Regions from separate parts of the Homo sapiens genome. Here all the other regions are linked to region 3. Evidence: promoter capture Hi-C in 16 types of primary human blood cells and fetal thymus (Javierre and others, 2016). All regions are on one chromosome and are shown on one strand. The core of a region is centred on a gene start or on the middle of the fragment in contact, and the rest is flanking DNA. Distances in the headings are between cores, read along the strand shown. Region 1 overlaps GREB1 (growth regulating estrogen receptor binding 1). Region 2 overlaps GREB1 (growth regulating estrogen receptor binding 1). Region 3 holds the start of KCNF1 (potassium voltage-gated channel modifier subfamily F member 1). Region 4 has its middle 7.2 kb from the start of GREB1.

Region 1 (2,982 bases), core at 324-2,823, 630 kb after region 3:
GAATGGACCGGGGAGTGGGGAGGAGTTGGGTCTGAAGGGTAGGCAGTACACGGAAGCTGTGGCTTTATTTTTCTGAGCAAAATGATGAGTGTACAGCACCCAGGAGCACCCAGAGCCAAGTGTTATCTTAGGAAGTGAGTTCCAGCCCATTCTGGGACTCAGCGCTGTTGTTGACAGATGGAGGCTTCATTTAGACAGAGGTGCCTCATTGCATGATTGGTAACAGGTGGAGTGAAGGGACCTCAGAGAGGAGTAGGAAAATCATTCAGACCCCGATTTTAGTTGGATGCTTAACCCCTCTAGTCTGAGAGCCTTTTATTTATTTGTTTGTTTGTTTATTTTGAGATGAAGTCTTGCTCAAGTTGCCCAGGCTGGAGTGCGGTGGTGTGATCTCGGGTCACTGCAAGCTCCGCCTCCCAGGTTCACGCCATTCTCCTGCCTCAGTATACCGAGTAGCTGGGACTACAGGCTCCCACCACCATGCCTGGCTAATTTTTTGTATTTTTTGTAGAGGCAGGGTTTCACCGTGCTAGCCAGGATGGTCTCGATCTCCTGACTTTGTGATCTGCCCACCTCGGCCTCCCAAAGTGCTGGGATTACAGCCGTGAGCCACTGCGCCCGGCCGAGCCTTTTAAGAGAAATCCATTTTTCACCTGTGGGCAAACTTTTGGCTGTTCTATTCTAAGGAGGGAAGAGGAGGGGAGGGGTCGCTCTAAGGAGAGGCCAGGGCAAGAATGTTTTCCTTGGAATGGGCTGGAGCCAGAAGGCTCCTGCTCTCATCCCCAGGGAAGGGCCCATGGTGCTGAGGGTGCAGGTGGAGGAGCCAACGCTGGCCGCCTGTCTGTCCTGCCCCCCTGTTTGCCTGCTCACCTCCACGCAGGAGATGGGTCTGCAGGCCACATTCTTAGAATGCTCTTGGGTTTGTTTGTGTTTTTTTAATTGAGACAAAGTCTCACTCTGTCACCCAGGCTGGAGTGCAGTAGTGCGTTCTCAGCTCACTGCAACCTCTGCCTCCCGGGGTCAAACGATTCTTGTGCCTCAGCCTCCCGAGTAGTGAGGATTACAGGCGCCTGCCACCATGCCCAGCTAACTTTAGTATTTTTGGTAGAGACAGGGTTTCACCATGTTGGCCAGGCTGGTCTCGAACTCCTGACCACAGGTGATCCACTCGCCTCGGCCTCACAAAGTGTTGGGATTACAGGTGTGAGCCACCGGCCCGGCCTGCTCTCGGTTTTCTTTGTCTGGCTAGAAATGTGTCTTTTTAGATGAGGCTAAAAAATGTGTCCCGGGCTGGAGGGCAATGGCACGATCTCGCTCACTGCAACCTTCGCCTCCCAGGTTCAAGCGATTCTCCTGCCTCAGCCTCCGAGTAGCTAGGATTACAGGCACCCGCCACCTCACCTGGCTGATTTTTGTATTTTAGCAGAGACGGGTTGCATCATGTTGGCCAGGCTGGTCTCGAATCTCCTGACTCAGGTGATCCACCTGCCTCAGCCTCCCAAAGTGCTGGGACTACAGGCATGAGCCACTGCACCCGGCCAATCAGCAACTTTCTATGGCAGCTCCCCTTTTGGCAAAGCACCATGACAAAAGAACCCAAGGCAATCCTTTTCCTAACCCAAAGTTTGGAGCATGGCTGGACAAGTGAACACCATTTTTAAAAAGCAACTTAAAAAAAATGCATCCTTTTCTGAAGGAAAAGGGATTAATCTTTCCAATGAATCTTTGCTTTCAGTAAAGCATACTGAGGGCCATCATTGGACATTCTAAAATTGTTCCAAATGTGTGACCTTGGACAAGTCACTTGAATGTCACCCAGCCTCAATTTCCTAATGTGTAAAATGAGAACCACGTTACCTAAGTTTTAGGACTGTGATGAAGATGAAGTAAGGTTACAAATGGAAAGCAAGAAAAATCTCTGCACAGAGTGATCCTGACAGATAGCAGCTGTTGATTATACTTAAAATGTTTGGGGTTTGTGTCGCTAAAGAAAATAACAAAGATAGCCGGGCGCGGTGGCTCACGCCCGTAATCCCAGCACTTTGGGAGGCTGAGGCGGGTGGATCACTTGAGGTCGGGAGTTCAAGACCAGCCTGACCAACATGGAGAAACCCCATCTCTACTAAAAATACAAAATTAGCCGGGCATAGTGGTGCACGTCTGTAGTCCCAGCTACTCGGGAGGCTGAGGGAGGAGAATCGTTTGAACCCAGGAGGTGGAGGTTGCGGTGAGCTGAGATCGTGCCACTGAACTCAAGCCTGGGTGACAGAGCGAGATTCCGTCTCAAAAAATAAAAATAAAAAAAAATAACAAAGATGTGAAGACAAAGAATGCTTTTACTTCCCACGCCCCCTCCCTTCATCTGCAAAACCAAGACAATAATACTTTTGTCATTGAGCTGTTGGAAGAAAATTTCCTGGCACATAGTATACAGGAAAGAAATATTGGTTTTCTTATTCCATTCATACTCTCTTTCAGTAAATAAATACACACATATATATGTATACAACATATGTCCTTACTGATTTATAAGAACATGGACCACATGTTTTTATATGCTTATATGTGGTTTATGCATGCATGGACCACAGTATATATTATTTGCCTTATAAAATATATACATACATACTTGAAGTGAATAGGTAGATGAGCTATAAACTGAAGTTTTGGTATTTTTTATGTGCTCACTTGGAATACAATGTTGTAACATACAAGCTCTGTAATAGGGACTTTACAAACTTTCTCAAGTGGTTCTGGGAGAATAGGTAGAACCTGTTCTTGAAATAATTGCAGGACTTTCTTGGCTCCCAGCATGATGAAAACCCTGCTCTGCTCAGGAGCGCATCTCGCTTTTTGTGTGAATGCAGGCTTAGTCTCCTTAGGCCAAGTCTCTAGTGCTGTCCTTTAGAACTTTAGAGGAATGCCTTAACTTTCTATAAAATCAGGAAGTGTCTTGTCACTACTAGAAATGGCACCAGAAAG
Region 2 (3,002 bases), core at 142-2,641, 690 kb after region 3:
ACTTTGCTCTGCTTCTGCAGATGGAAGAAGTTTATAAAATGCCATCCAAGCCACTGCACAGTGGGCACGATTTGGATGAAGTTGCCAACCCAGGTCATCCGCAGGCCTGGCACACGAACCTCTGACCGTCCCTGCGAATGCAGTGTTGGAGTGACCGACGCTCTTCTTTGTTTTAGGGAGTGGACTTATATCATGAAAATAAGAAGTACTTCGGGCTGTCGGAGTTTATTGAATCCACCCTTTCAGGACACAGCCTCCCCTTGCTCAGATACGATAGCTCCTTTGAGGCCATGGTCACTGCATTAGGAAAAAGGTACTTGTTTCTCTTCTAAGTTACTAGAAGTGCTCAGTAGCTTAAAGGGCAAGTTGAGGTGCGTTTAGCCAGCCAGGGAATTCCAGGAAGGGAGGCCTTTCCTTCCTGAGCAACTCAGTTTCTCCACTAAATGTACCCTGGTTTTTTCCTTCTCCTCTATTTGAATCCCTTTGGGTCAGCGATATCTTTGTCATCCTGTTGCTCTAGAAAATTTTAGAGATGACAATGAGCGGAAATATGCTGGAATGTGGAATTATGTTTTTGAGCCAATGGAGGGTAGGAAAATGGGAGGAAGATAACAAAGCTTTAAAAGAAACTGGAGTGATGATCATAGTCAGCTTTGTTTTTATTTCCGATGCATATCATGTATTGAATGTTTATTTTGTGCCGTTCACTCTTCCATGGACTTTACTTTCATTATCTGATTTGATCCTCACTGCCTCTCTGAGCCACTTGCTACTGTTATTCATACTTTGCAAATGAAGAGGCTGAGGCTTGGAGAGGCCCCATAGCTTTCTCAGGCTACGTGTCTAGCAAGTGACAGAACTGGGTGAGAACCCAGAGTCAATCTGACTGCACAGCCAGCCCCTTTAACCCTGTCGCAACAGACCTCATTTTATAGATGAAATTGAGGCTCAGACAGGCTAAGTGATTGCCAGGGACCACATGGTTTATTCGTGGTAAAGCCAGGCCAAGTTTTATAGACGATCTAATGCAAAGCAAAATGCCACTGAACAAAATACCACTGATTGTCAGCATGAGCTGGTTTCTACCCGCTTTTCTTACTGAACCTCATTCTTCTCATTTGCAGACCAAGGGATGAAGTTAGACATATCCTTCTCAAGCTATGTTCCAAGGTATACTGCTTTGGCTGGATACTAATAGCTATTAAGCATAAAGGGGTTCCATGGTCAAACGTGTCTGAGAAACATTTAAGGAAAGGACTTCTTTTCCATGAGAGTTCTTGGAGCCTTCAGCACATCCATGCATGCTGTAATTCTCCAGAAGGCTAGAGATGTGTCCAGTAGCTCGTGGGACTAGAATTTCCCAGAACACTCTTGCAGAAACTAAATCTCTTAGATACTGTTCGGTTCTGTGATACTGATAGAAATTAATCAGGTCAGTTCTCCAGCACATGGATCGACAGCTGAGCTCTCATCAACTGGCTGCATGAAGTAGCCCTCCAAGATTTCACATTGAGGCAAGAAAACCGGCCTTTGCCCTTCCTCTGCTTCTCCTCAGACAGTGAGCACACATGATGTGTTTAGTATGTTGTAGACACTGGGCTCAGCACTCTATATTTATTACCTAAAATAATCCTCACAGTGACACAGTGAGATAGGAAATACTGTTATCTCCCTTTTTCAGATGAAGAAACTGAGACTTAGAGAAGTTAGGCTACTTGTCCAGAGTCACATGGGGGGTTTATAGTGAAACTGGACCCCAACCCTGCTTGCTTGGCTCCAAAACCACGTAGCCACCAAGCCACATTGACCAAAGTCTCACAGCTAGTAAAGGGTGGGCTGTGACCACCATGCCAATACATCTTGGTTTACCCTCTATCAGTTTTAACCTTGGCAAATCATCTAACCTGTCTAAACTTCTGTACCCTGACCTGTAGAAATCCACCTTGCTGGTGGCTTCTTAGAGTTTCATGAGCTAATGTACGTGTGCACATTCAGTAACAGTTGCATGCTGAGAGCTCAGGCTCCAAAATCATCCTTCCTGGGTTTGAATCCTGAATCTGCCGTTAACCAGCTGTGAGACTTTGAGAAAGTTTCTCGATTTTCTTTGGGGATGATAACACCTACATCATAGAGGTACTATAAGGATTAAATGGATTCATACACCTAAAGCTTTGGAAACAGGGCCTGGCACACATTACATGCTTCTGTTGGCTGCTAGCACCACCACCTCCACCACTATTCACCATCATCATCCTCTCTTCTCTCTCCCCCTCTGCTAAACTAGAAGTGTTGCAGAGATTAAATCTTATGTCTCACTGGGTGAAAAGAGAATTTCAAACCCTGGATTGTTGAAGTATGGAGAATCATAGGAACTTCTAGGAATTATTTGGCCCAACCACCTCATTTTATAATTGTGGGAACTGAAGCCGAGTGGGAGAGTGATTTGCCCGACTTCATGCAGCCTGTTGGTGGCAACATGGACTGCAGACAGGTTTGACATCTTTCCACCATACCGCACTGCCTTTACTAGGAATCATTTGTCTGGAGAACTCTCTTGAAACTGGTAATTTGAACAGAAGGAGATAAAGGTTAGAACATGGGGTTACTGCTTCTTGCCACCATGTGTGTGGTCCGACTGTTAGTCCTCTATGTGCCATAAACGCCAGCATACGGCTGGGAAAACTGCTTGTAGGACTGTCAGTTGGACACAAACCTACTGTGACTTAAAAACAAAAGATCTAGACCTTTGACAACTCCTATTTTTATTCTAATATATTGTCTATGGAACTTTTTTCCTTTAGTACCTACCACAGAGGCTTAAGGGTGGGCATAGTTCTCTGCTGAGCCACAGCTAGGGTACATTTCTGTGCCTGACCTGGGGGTACTGTCTGGAGCTGGGCACCAGAGCCTGCTTCTTTTTTTTTTTTTTTTTTTTTTTTTTTTTTTTACGCAGCAGCTTTAATGGGGAATAACTGACAGCCAGTAGACCGTATATCTTTTTT
Region 3 (2,871 bases), core at 226-2,725:
CCTACTCTGTAGTAGCATGTCATTGTCTGATGCTAAATGGAAATGAAGTAAAATTTGTAAAACGAAGTTTCACTAAATAATACTTCATGTGATGTATTCTAATATATTCTGTTTTATGCTAACTCATTAAAGAAAAAAGAATACTGTCAGTGACCCAGTAAATTGATTTCATAATCCATTAACGGACATGTCCTTAAGTTTTAAAAAACCCAGCCTACAGAATACATTTTTAAATAGACTTTATATTTTAGAGCACAATTCAACAGAAAGTACAGAGAATTCCCACATGCCCCCTGTCTCCACAGCTCTCCCCTGCGCATCAACATCTCACACAGGGTGGGACACTTGTCATGGTGGACCACCCCACATGGACACGTCATCATCGCCCAGCACCGAGTTTGCATTAACATTCGCTCCTGGTGGTGAACATTCTATGGATTTTGACCATTGCATAACGACACATATCCGCCATTATGGTACGTTTCACTGCCCTAAAAATCCTCTGCTCTGCCTATTCATTCTTCCCTCCAGAATATTTTTAACACGATCTCGAGGCCATAGATGATATCAGTAATTTGCAGTATTGATGATAGTGGTGAACCGGAGGAGAGAGACACTGTTAGGAAGCTGCTGTAGTGGTTCAGGTGAGTGAGGACAGAAGGACAGCTGTGGCTGCAAAGGCTGGAAGAGAGGAGGGTGTGGGACACTGGTCAGGAAGAGACAGGCCTTGGTCAAGGAGTGAGGAACGGGGAAGCAGGAGCCACTGGACCCTAGGGGTCTGGAAGCTAGTGGCCTTGGTGTGGGACTGCAGAGAGATAGGAGGTGCCAGACGGCAGGGACTTCAAGGCAGAATTGAAATCTGCTGAACAGCAGGCGTCGGTCAGCTGGGACAGCCGGAAAGCTCGGGATCAGGAGGCGGTCAAGCTGAGCTCTGCTCTCATTCCGCCGCGTGACCTTGGGCAAGTCCCTTCCCTTCTACAGGAGGCTGGACTAGATGTCCTCCTTGTACAGCGTTGCGGGGAAGGTGAGACAGTGCCACCAACACAGCAGGGCATTGCTGGGTCGGGGGGATGGGGCAGGAAACGCTTCAAGGATCAGGCAGGATTTTCCTCCCACCAGGAAAAGCCGGCGCGGGTCTAAGGCCGGAGGAGGGACCCAGACATAGGAGTCACCTTCTAAGGGGCTTCCTGGAGCACATTTTCCTGCCCAGCAACAGGCGGCAGCATTCTCTCCCCACTAATCCTCTCCAAACAGCAGTGAGAGAGAATGCCTGCCGCTTCAAGCCAGGTCGCAACCCCTCGGTGACCCGCTGCGCCCGAGGAGGGGCCGGCGGTGCGCGGTGGTGGCGGCGGGCGCGGCAGCTGTGCCCGTCTGCCCAAGGGTTAATCCGTCCCCTGCAGCTGCCGCGCGTGCCTTGCAGAATTTCACCAGAAGAGGGTACAGTTTGAAAAGCTCCTGACGTCAGGCTGGAATTCCTATTGTGTTTAGAAAAGGCTCGGGCAAAGCCAGCCCAAGTTCGCTCTCTGCACACCTCGAGCACCTCGCGGACGGCGTGGGTCCGCCAGCTCCGGGACCTGCCGCCGCTGCCTGCGCGCCCCGGGGCGGAGGACGGTGCCAGCCGCCCACGAGGAGACCCCGCTCCCGCAGGAGGCCGAGCTGAAGCGGCGGAGCGCGCCGCCAGCCAGCCGGGGTGAGTGCCCCGGGCGAGGCCGGCGGCCGCCAAAGCCCCCGCGGGCTCGCCCGGGCGCCCGGATGCCAGCCCCGAGCCCCGCCGCCGGGTGCATGCCTCCCCCGCGGCGCGCCCCCGCAGGCTGCTGCCCGCTGTGACCGCCCTTCCCCGCAGGCGGGCGCCGGCCAGGCTCTCCCCGAGATCAGCGCACGGGTGGCACCCGCCGGACCCCCAGCGGCAGCGGCGGCGGCGGCTGCAGGGGGCGCGGGGCGGAGGCTGCGAGGGCGCGCGCGGGGAGGATGGACGGGTCCGGGGAGCGCAGCCTCCCGGAGCCGGGCAGCCAGAGCTCCGCTGCCAGCGACGACATAGAGATAGTCGTCAACGTGGGGGGCGTGCGGCAGGTGCTGTACGGGGACCTCCTCAGTCAGTACCCTGAGACCCGGCTGGCGGAGCTCATCAACTGCTTGGCTGGGGGCTACGACACCATCTTCTCCCTGTGCGACGACTACGACCCCGGCAAGCGCGAGTTCTACTTTGACAGGGACCCGGACGCCTTCAAGTGTGTCATCGAGGTGTACTATTTCGGGGAGGTCCACATGAAGAAGGGCATCTGCCCCATCTGCTTCAAGAACGAGATGGACTTCTGGAAGGTGGACCTCAAGTTCCTGGACGACTGTTGCAAGAGCCACCTGAGCGAGAAGCGCGAGGAGCTGGAGGAGATCGCGCGCCGCGTGCAGCTCATCCTGGACGACCTGGGCGTGGACGCAGCCGAGGGCCGCTGGCGCCGCTGCCAGAAGTGCGTCTGGAAGTTCCTGGAGAAGCCCGAGTCGTCGTGCCCGGCGCGGGTGGTGGCCGTGCTCTCCTTCCTGCTCATCCTCGTCTCGTCCGTGGTCATGTGCATGGGCACCATCCCCGAGCTGCAGGTGCTGGACGCCGAGGGCAACCGCGTGGAGCACCCGACGCTGGAGAACGTGGAGACGGCGTGCATTGGCTGGTTCACCCTGGAGTACCTGCTGCGCCTCTTCTCGTCACCCAACAAGCTGCACTTCGCGCTGTCCTTCATGAACATTGTGGACGTGCTGGCCATCCTCCCCTTCTACGTGAGCCTCACGCTCACGCACCTGGGTGCCCGCATGATGGAGCTGACCAACGTGCAGCAGGCCGTGCAGGCGCTGCGGATCATGCGCATCGCGCGCATCTTC
Region 4 (3,068 bases), core at 82-2,581, 610 kb after region 3:
AGGGGGTGGATCACTTGAGGTCAGGAGTTCAAGACCAACCTGGCCAACATGGTGAAACCCCATCTCTACTAAAAATATAAAAATTAGCTGGGTGTGTGCCTGTAGTCCCAGCTACTTGGAAGTCTGAGGCAGGAGGATCGCTTGAACCTAGGAAGTGGAGGTTGCCATGAGCTGAAATTGTACCACTGCACTCCAGCCTGGGTGACAGAGGGAGACTCCATCTCAAAAAAAAAAAAAAAAAAAAAGGCATTCAGGTCATATTCTCTTTCCTTTTGCCTGTTTCCTTTTGGAATGACCTACTCTGTTGATTGACTTGGGCCTCAGTTGGCCAAGACATGGGAGGCTATTCTCACACAGAAATTCTACCACTCTTGGTGATAGGGAAGCACTAACTGCAGGGTGTAAGACACCACTCTCCAGGCCAGGACTGCCCTACCCAGAGACAGACCAGCCTGGCAGGATGGAGCATGAGGTCGGGGCTCCAGCAGTCAGAACTTCATATGCCTGGTTCTGAACGACCCATCTAGATTCTCCTGGCCCCGGCTCCATCCTGCTGTGAACTCACCTCCTGCCTGGACTCTCAGCATCATTGCTTTCCCCATGCTCTGCCGTGCCCTGATGGATCCTTTGTTGTAAAGCTTTGGGCTGCGTGGAGTCAAGTGCCTTCTGAATTTAACTTTGCCCGGAGAGTAACTCTGCTGTCATCTGTGGGTGGTGCTTCTAAGGCGTATTTCAGCTTGGCATAGAAGCATCAGACATTTGAGAGGGTTTCATCAAAGGCTTTCTTTTATCAATGCTAACTTAGCTTGTTCTAGTGCAAGAAAAATCCATAGAGGGCTTGAGTTCACGCAGGTTAATTATGGATAGAGCCCTAGTTTTATGAATGGTCTTAAACATTGTCCTTCGTTCTTCTGCACTCATCTTTGCCACATTTCTTTCTTTTTTACATCATACGGCACTTCATGAGACTCTGTGGCTCTAAGCTTTCTTCCTTTATATCACTAGTCCTCTTAGAGGAGAATAAGAGAGGAGCAGAATGTAGTAGAAAGATTATGAGCTTTGGATTTCAGTAAAGCTGTATTAAAATCTCAGCTTAACTACTTACTAGTTATGTGATCTTGGTTACTTAATATCTATAAGCCTTAGTTTTCTCATTAGTAAAACAAGAATTTTAGTGAAGATTAAATAACATTATGTATTCGGTACTAATTGTGATCTTATTCTCTATAGCTACTCATGCCTTCTTCCCATATCTTGTTCTCTGGGGGCAAAAACTTTAAATCCTTTTTTTTTTTTTTTTAGAGAGAGAGTCTCACCCTGTTGCCCAGGCTGGAGTGCAGTGCCGCCATCTTGGCTCACTGCAACCTCTGCCTCCCAGGTTCAAGTGATTCTCCTGCCTCAGCCTCTCGAGCAGCTGGGATTATAGGCACCGGCCACCACGACTGGCCAATTTTTGTATTTTTTTAGTAGAAATGGAGTTTCCCCATGTTGGCCAGGCTGGTTTCAAACTCCTGACCTCAAGTGATCCACCCACCTCAGCCTCCCAAAGCGCTGAGATTATAGGCATGAGCCACCGCTCCCGGCTTCAATCCTTTTAACTGATTCTTTTGGTAATTATCTTGATATTTCTAAATAACATATTTTGCTACTTCTTGATTTTTGAATTTTAGGTAATATTCTTAAGCTTTCTAATATGGAAGATAAGGATGTTGCTCTTTTTCACACATGCCTCATCCTCCCTACACAGACACCCACATCCTGCCCTCCATCCTTCCACTACAGTTATTTATGATTTAGATAGCCCAATTCAATGTATACATCACTATAGTCATGTAAACACTTGGACAGCAGAGCCATGTAGTGTACTACTATTAGTTTTTTGTCCTGAATAGTTTTTTGCTTTCCCTGAAATTAGTCATTGCTTATTTTTTGAATGCACCTATTGCTATCATGCGGTCAAAAAAAATGGGGAAGTGATAAGTGCTACTAGTCATATTATTAGAAAGAAAGAGGCATGTCACTTCTTCAAGGGAAAAGATATTTTCTCATGGCATTAAATTCTCAAAGTAACTTTGGTTGTGGGACCTCATATAAATGATACAGTGGACTTAATTTGTTAGGAAATGCCAAAGCCAATTCCATATGGCTGTTTTCTGTAATGGTTTCAGAAAATAACCAAGGTAATAACATTTCAGTGCAACTTTGGAAAGATAACTTCACGAGGGACCGAGCTGCTCAGCCTAAAAATGCTTTGTGGGGAAGCTTGGTCCCAGAGTGGGACCTGGGCATCTGGTGGATTGGCTGGACAACCCATCCCCTGGACAGTCTTTCCTGAAGGCCAGCCTCTCCAAATAGCAAGACTGCACTCATTCATTCAACCAGGAGCTATTCAGTGAGGCAGCCAGGCACTGCCTAGGCTCCATAGATTCTATAGTAAAACAGATGTGGACTCAGCTCTCATGTAGTTCAGGGTCCTACGGGAAGACAGACACTGAAGCATGAAGAGCTGGTGTGACGGGTGCTCCAAAGGAAAAGTGCAGGAGGCCTGGGAGGGCGCCACACTTGACCCTAATCCCAAAAGCATTCTAACAAAGTCCCCCACATTTGTTGTTCTGCTGATACAGATCCTCAAACTGCTTTAAGACCTATCAATATCCCTAAGTCCCTTAATTTCCTTTCCCTTTAACTTTTTTGAAGGCTTTTCTTCTTTCTGCACTGACAGTCAAATAACTGCAGAATAAACACACAATATCTCAGAATCAGCCTTTCTCAGGTTGTAAAATCAAATTCCACCAAACCCAAAACATCCTGAGGAAAACAGTACACCAGGGATTATGTCAGACCTTCCTGGTCCTAGCTGTTCACACCAGGAAAGTGCCCTGAATTCATAGGCTTGTGACTGTCTGAGGAACAGATCACAAAAATCTAGAGATCACTGGTGAAACAGAAGAATGATGACTTTTCTATCTCTTTACATCTACTCCAAATCCACATTTATGTGAAAGCTCATTTGTGGCAGAAAGATCTTTCAAATCTATCCATACAAGGCAAGAATTTATACACTGCAA

Evidence for each region. Contacts are between HindIII fragments. The CHiCAGO score rates a contact against its expected background, and 5 or more counts as called.
Region 1: a fragment that was not itself captured here is called in contact with the fragment with the promoter of KCNF1 in region 3 in 1 of 17 cell types (erythroblasts); the score reaches 5.2 in erythroblasts.
Region 2: a contact is called between a fragment that was not itself captured here and the fragment with the promoter of KCNF1 in region 3, in 2 of 17 cell types (erythroblasts and endothelial precursors). The highest score is 6.4, in erythroblasts.
Region 4: a contact is called between a fragment that was not itself captured here and the fragment with the promoter of KCNF1 in region 3, in 1 of 17 cell types (erythroblasts). The highest score is 5.0, in erythroblasts.

What each region holds. Positions count from the first base shown.
Region 1 is chr2:11,543,892-11,546,873 of GRCh38, forward strand. All of the region lies in intron 1 of GREB1 (growth regulating estrogen receptor binding 1), which reads left to right. Among named protein-coding and RNA genes, the nearest start is that of MIR4429, 4.7 kb to the left of the region's middle. The HindIII fragment of the contact is 4,331 bases long and covers 1-2,982 here.
Region 2 is chr2:11,602,230-11,605,231 of GRCh38, forward strand. It overlaps GREB1 (growth regulating estrogen receptor binding 1), which reads left to right. Exons shown (of 33, transcript NM_014668.4): 17 at 177-313. Among named protein-coding and RNA genes, the nearest start is that of MIR4429, 63 kb to the left of the region's middle. The HindIII fragment of the contact is 1,552 bases long and covers 616-2,167 here.
Region 3 is chr2:10,910,459-10,913,329 of GRCh38, forward strand. It overlaps KCNF1 (potassium voltage-gated channel modifier subfamily F member 1), which reads left to right and starts at 1,476. Exons shown (of 1, transcript NM_002236.5): 1 at 1,476-2,871. The coding sequence starts at 1,969. The HindIII fragment of the contact is 10,094 bases long and covers 1-2,871 here.
Region 4 is chr2:11,525,273-11,528,340 of GRCh38, forward strand. It overlaps a transcript of GREB1 not described here. Among named protein-coding and RNA genes, the nearest start is that of GREB1, 7.2 kb to the right of the region's middle. The HindIII fragment of the contact is 701 bases long and covers 982-1,682 here.